Regions from separate parts of the Homo sapiens genome. Here region 1 is linked to region 2. The links are contacts of gene promoters, found by promoter capture Hi-C in blood cells and fetal thymus (Javierre and others, 2016). All regions are on one chromosome and are shown on one strand. Each heading gives the region's core, a stretch centred on a gene start or on the middle of the fragment in contact. The rest is flanking DNA. Distances are from core to core; before and after follow the strand shown. Region 1 holds the start of LCN6 (lipocalin 6). Region 2 holds the start of INPP5E (inositol polyphosphate-5-phosphatase E).

What was found. The method cuts DNA at HindIII sites, captures the fragments that hold promoters and counts their contacts. A CHiCAGO score of 5 or more calls a contact.
Region 1: the fragment with the promoter of LCN6 here is called in contact with the fragment with the promoter of INPP5E in region 2 in 7 of 17 cell types (monocytes, M1 macrophages, megakaryocytes and 4 more); the score reaches 7.8 in monocytes.

The regions. Positions count from the first base shown.
Region 1 is chr9:136,747,057-136,750,020 of GRCh38, reverse strand. LCN6 (lipocalin 6) reads left to right here and starts at 1,496. Exons shown (of 7, transcript NM_198946.3): 1 at 1,496-1,627; 2 at 2,458-2,597. The coding sequence starts at 1,538. It overlaps LOC100128593 (a long non-coding RNA gene), which reads right to left. Exons shown (of 3, transcript NR_033913.1): 2 at 1,449-2,943; 3 at 110-1,275. The HindIII fragment of the contact is 9,973 bases long and covers 1-2,964 here.
Region 2 is chr9:136,438,500-136,441,217 of GRCh38, reverse strand. It overlaps INPP5E (inositol polyphosphate-5-phosphatase E), which reads left to right and starts at 1,373. Exons shown (of 10, transcript NM_019892.6): 1 at 1,373-2,610. The coding sequence starts at 1,799. SEC16A (SEC16 homolog A, endoplasmic reticulum export factor) reads left to right here. Exons shown (of 32, transcript NM_014866.2): 32 at 1-1,113. RefSeq lists silencers at 1,215-1,414, 1,465-1,644, 1,705-2,194 and enhancers at 1,267-1,900, 1,901-2,535, 2,485-2,594, 2,536-2,718. The HindIII fragment of the contact is 4,062 bases long and covers 1,030-2,718 here.

The sequences.
Region 1 (2,964 bases), core at 247-2,746, 310 kb before region 2:
CAGGCTCCCCGCAGCCCTTAGGGACACTAGTGGGGCTGGCAGGTGTTTCCTTCTCAGAGGCCTGGCCCAGCTGCTCGGCTTCCTCCTTTTTGTATTTTTATTTTATTTTAGAGATGGGGTCTTGCTCCATCACCCAGGCTGGAGAGGAGTGGCACGATCACAGCTCACTGCAGCCTCAACCTCCTGGGCTCAAGCAATCCTCCTACCTCAGCTTCCTGAGTAGCTGGGACTACAGGAGCACGCCACCATGTCCAGCTAATTTTTAAACTTGCTTGTAGAGACGAAGTCTTGCTATGTCGCCCAGGCTGGTCTCAAACTCCTGGACTCAAGTGATCCTCCCGCCTCAGCCTCCTGAAGTGCTGGGATTACCGCGAGCAGCCACGGCTCCCTCCTGAAGGCTCCAGGCCTAAGTGTCCCGCTCCCTTGTTCTGTGGCTCAGCCCCTGGGCAACTCCTGCTTGCCATGGCTGTGGCTGGCACCTCCGTGGCCCCACTGCCCGGTCAGTCTTCGCAGGCCCAGCCCCCAGTAGCTGTGTGGTTTCTGCCTTCCTCCTGCACTCTGGTGGTCACAGGCCCTGCTGCGTGGGTACAGGGCAGGTGGCCAGGGCTGCAGCATAAGCTCTGTGAGTGCAGGCGGCCCTGGGCACTGGAGCCTTGTTGCATGGACGTGCTCCTTGCACCCTTGTTGATGAATGAGCGAAGGTGTGTGGGAGTGAATCCCAGAGGGTGCAGGCCACGGCACTGGGGGAGGACCCTCCCGGCTGCCTCCCAGTGGGCTTCAGGGGCTCAGATAGACCCTGCCGAGCACCTCTGTCCTCTGCTCCCGGACTGGGGCTGCAGAGAGCTCTCAAGGGGCCTTGGGAGGCACAAGCAGGCCAGGGTCCCAGGGAGGGGAGGCAGGAGGCAGCAGGGCCGGATGGTGGGCTGCAGAGGTGGAAGGAACAGGACAGTCTGTTCTGGGGGTGCTGGCTGTGGGGGACAGAGGCCAGGCCACAAAGCAGAATGGTGGGTGGGCCAGGAGGAGGTGGGAGCCTTTTTCAAAAGGCTTTCAGGGACTTTTTATATTTAATGATTGAAACAAAAGATATCCAAAACCGCAGTTCCTGAGAACCACTTGTTCTCGCCCTGGTTCCTCTCCTTGGGCTTGACCTTGGCCTCCTGCCGGGCCTGGCAGCGGACAGCAGTCTCCCTGCTTCCCAGGCTGGGCGAGGGAGAGCGTGGGTCCCCAGGAACGGGGGAGGTGGTGCGGCTGGCTTTAGGATGCCCATTCTGGAACCTTCTGGTGGAAGAAAGCAGGGGATCAGTATAGTATGGTTGATCCACACACTCCAGACCCTCTCCTGGCTGTGCAGCTGGTCTGATCTGGGCTCAGAGGCTGCCACTGCTCAGTGCTCCCCTGGGTAATTTTGCAGGAGGCCAGGAGGGTTCCTGGCAGTTAGTGCCACCCACACGGAGAAATTCAGAGCCATATAAACGGGTCTCCAGGGCCTGGAGGGACTGCACATCCTGGGCCTGCGGCGCAGTGTAGACCTGGGAGGATGGGCGGCCTGCTGCTGGCTGCTTTTCTGGCTTTGGTCTCGGTGCCCAGGGCCCAGGCCGTGTGGTTGGGAAGACTGGACCCTGAGCAGGTACAGTCCTCCTGGGGGTGGGGAGAGCTGGTCCTCGGGGGCCAGCCCCTCCTTTAAGGCCACACAGCTTCTGGGCCCCCCAGGGCTAGCCCAGACCAGCATGAGCAGTGGGGAATTAGTTGGGCCAGCCCTTGGGGAGTCCCACAGGCAGGAGCCTCAGGGCAGGAGGGGTGGATGCTGGAGGGTTGGAGGCTGGAGGGCTGGAGAATTGGAGGCTGGAGACTGGAGGTTGCAGGGCTGGAGGGTGTAGGGTTGGAGAACTGGAGGCTGGAGGGCTGGAGGCTGTAGGGCTGGAGAACTGGAGGCTGGAGGCTGCTGGGCTGGAGGCTGGAGGGCTGTAGAACTGGAGGCTGGAGGGCTGGAGGCTGGAGGGCTGCAGAACTGGAGGCTGGAGGGCTGGAGAGCTGGAGACTAGAGGCTGCAGGGCTGCAGGCTGGAGGTTGGAAGGCTGGAGGGCTGGAGCCTAGAGGCTGTAGGGCTGGAAGGCTGGAGGCTGGAGGGTTGGAGGTCTGGGGGGTTGGAAGCTGGAGGCTGGAGGGCTGGAGAACTGAAGGCTAGAGGCTGCAAGGCTGGAAGGTTGGAGGCTGGAGGGCGGGAGGGTTGGAGACTGGAGGCTGGAGGGCTGGATGGTTGGAGGGTGGAGGCTGGAGGCTGCAGGGCTGGAAGGCTGGAGGCTGGAGGGTTGGAGGCTGGAGGCTGGAGGGCTGGATGGTTGGAGGGTGGAGGCTGAGGCTGGAGGTTTGGAGGCTGGAGGCTGAGGCTGGAGGGTTGGAGGCTGGAGGCTGGAGGCTGGAGGGCTGGCGGCCCTAACGGGAGCCGCCTCAATGCAGCTTCTTGGGCCCTGGTACGTGCTTGCGGTGGCCTCCCGGGAAAAGGGCTTTGCCATGGAGAAGGACATGAAGAACGTCGTGGGGGTGGTGGTGACCCTCACTCCAGAAAACAACCTGCGGACGCTGTCCTCTCAGCACGGGTGAGTGGGCGGGTCCTGCCAGGCCTTCCCGCAGGCAGGACTGTGGCTCAGCCACATCATGTACTTTGCACATCTGCTCCCGGGCACCGCGGCCTGGGGGCTTCCCACGGCCCCTCTGCACCCCCGTCACTTTTCCCACTGGGCTCTGTGCAGAGCCACCAGCCCTCTGCCCAGCTACTCACATCTGTGTCCCTGGGGCCTCCAGGTGGCACTCCCACCTTCAATACCGCGGCGGGCACTGCTCTGACTATGCTCCTTCATGCATCCCTGTCCTGGGTCATCTGGGCTGCAGGCTGTGGTCAGAGCTGGGGAAGCCTGTCCTCTCAGCAGGCCTTTTTCGGGAATTCTGTTTAAAGGAGGATAATGC
Region 2 (2,718 bases), core at 124-2,623:
GTTCTCAATCAGCGCCTCCGAGGAGCCGTGGGGTTCCTTCGGCATTAGTTCACGGTTTTTGAGAGAGGCCTTAGTTACTGCAGTGAATTTCTTTCCTGTTGCAAAGACGCTTCCAGCCTCACTTTACTTTCTGTGGCCTGATGAGGACCATGGGTGATTTTGTGTACCCAAAGCGCTGGGGACTGCCCACCGTGTGGCCCAGTCACTGGGAAGGAGCCCCAGAGAGCCGGCTGTCTGACATGATGGCTCAGGGTGGTCATCCAGGTTGAAAACTGACCGTGTGATGTTTGATTTGGGCTTCATTTCGTGTGTAGGAGCACGGTTAGACTCACTGTTAAGGAAGCTGGATGCACTTCTCTAAAAGGCTGCACTTTCCGTGAGCACTTTTCGTGGTACAATCCACATGACCCACTTTCTCCCCTGGGGGACGTTGGTTCAGAGGTTGGTAGCACTTGGGGAGAGTATCTTAACACAGTTTCTTGACAGCAGCTCTGGAACTTAGTATTTCTGCCCCGAGTTTTGCCACACTGAGACTTTGAGTAGCTCCTGGTGGACTCAACCCTGTTCAACTCAGAGACGGGCCTCCTCTCACTGATGCAAAGCTTTAAGGCTTCTCTGACTGTTCTGAAACTCTTCGTATTCTTGTCAAGTCTAAAGAGACTGAAGAAAAGATTTAAATACTAATAAAAATCAGTAGATAATTTCTGTAGGTTCTGCTGGAGGAATACAAACTGTTTGGTGTTTTAAATTTAAGTGTAGAAATTGTAGAATGTGGAATTAGCACAGATCCTTCCTGGCTTTCTGTTTCACTTGATCATTTAGCCCAGACCACCCAGGATGTTTTCCAAAATGTTCCACAGGCGTGTCCCGCTGGATCCATTTGTCCTTGTCACTTGGAGAAAGGCCAGTCCCTGTGACGGGGCAGCCCTCTCTGTCCCTCGGTCAGCTCGTGTGAATCCTGGGACCTCTTCCGGTCGGCTCTGCCCGCTGTTCTGGGGTCGACTGCCACGACTTTTGATTCAAGAAGCTTCCTCCAGGCGGGAGCGGCTATTTTTCCTAAATGAGAATTGTTACATTGCAAATTGTTGAATAAAATATTTTGCGCTCCTTCAAGCACCTTCACCTGTGGTTCCCTTTGGTTTGCTGGAAGCGAGTGAGTGCAGGTGTCCGCAGGCCTCGGCGCTGTCCTGGACCGCACCCAGGTCCTCTCCGGGGACCTGCACCTGCCTCGCTGGGACCTGCCGGACTGCGGGGCTGCCGGGTTGGGAGGGGCGTGGGAGACCCGTCCGGGTCCGGTGCGGCGCAGTCCTCCGGCCGCCAGGGGCCGCTGTGGGCGGGGCCGGGGCGCGGGGCGGGGACCGGGCGCGGCCCCGCGGCGGCGGTTGCTGGGTCCCGGCCGGGCTGACTCCGCTTCTGGGCGGCCGGGCCTCCGCGAGTACCGGGTCGACTTCGGAGTCTGCGAGCCCAGCCAGGGGTGCCCGCTTCCCACCCCTCTCCCCGAGCGGCGTCCCCGTCGGGGTCGAACCTCCCCCGCGACAGGCGCCCAGCCGCCTGTTCCCCCAGGCCTTGCCTGCGGACCGCCCTGGGAACGGCGTCTGGGAGCCCCGAGGGGCTGGCGGGACTCGGGGCCCGGGCCATGCGGCAGCCGCCCCCGCCCCTCCGCGACCATCCCCGGCCCAAGCGGGAGCCGCAGCGGCGTTTCTGCTCCTCGCTGCGCCGGCGACCCCGGACCCGGCACCCGTGACCCCTCGCGCTGCCTGCGGCCTCGCGCCGAGGCCTGCCCCGGGAGAGACCGTCCATGCCGTCCAAGGCGGAGAATCTGCGGCCCTCCGAGCCGGCCCCGCAGCCGCCGGAAGGGAGGACGCTCCAAGGACAGCTTCCCGGCGCTCCGCCGGCCCAGCGCGCGGGGTCCCCACCCGATGCTCCGGGCTCCGAGAGCCCCGCGCTTGCCTGCAGCACTCCGGCCACGCCCAGCGGCGAGGACCCGCCAGCCCGAGCAGCACCCATCGCCCCGCGGCCCCCCGCCAGGCCTCGACTGGAGCGAGCCCTGTCCCTGGACGACAAGGGCTGGAGGAGGAGGCGTTTTCGAGGCAGCCAGGAGGACCTGGAAGCCCGGAATGGGACCAGTCCCTCCAGGGGCTCAGTGCAGAGCGAGGGCCCCGGGGCCCCCGCCCACAGCTGCTCCCCGCCCTGCCTGAGCACCTCCTTGCAGGAAATCCCCAAGTCCCGCGGGGTCCTGAGCAGTGAGAGAGGGAGCCCGTCCTCGGGGGGTAACCCTCTCTCTGGGGTGGCCAGCAGCTCCCCGAACCTCCCGCACAGAGACGCCGCCGTGGCGGGGAGCTCGCCCAGGCTGCCCAGCCTGCTGCCCCCGCGCCCACCGCCTGCCCTGAGCCTGGACATCGCCTCCGACTCCCTGAGGACAGCAAACAAGGTCGACTCGGATCTTGCAGACTACAAGCTCCGCGCGCAGCCGCTCCTGGTGCGGGCCCACAGCAGCCTGGGCCCCGGCCGGCCGCGGAGCCCCCTGGCCTGCGACGACTGTTCCCTTCGCTCGGCCAAATCCTCCTTCAGCCTCCTGGCGCCCATCCGCAGCAAGGACGTCCGCAGCAGGTAGGGAGGGCCTGGCGGGTGCAGCGCCCGCGCCGCCTTCGTTGTAGTGTTCAGGCTGCTGGAACCTCGTGAGACCGTTCCCATCAGCAGCGTTTAAGATGCCTAACC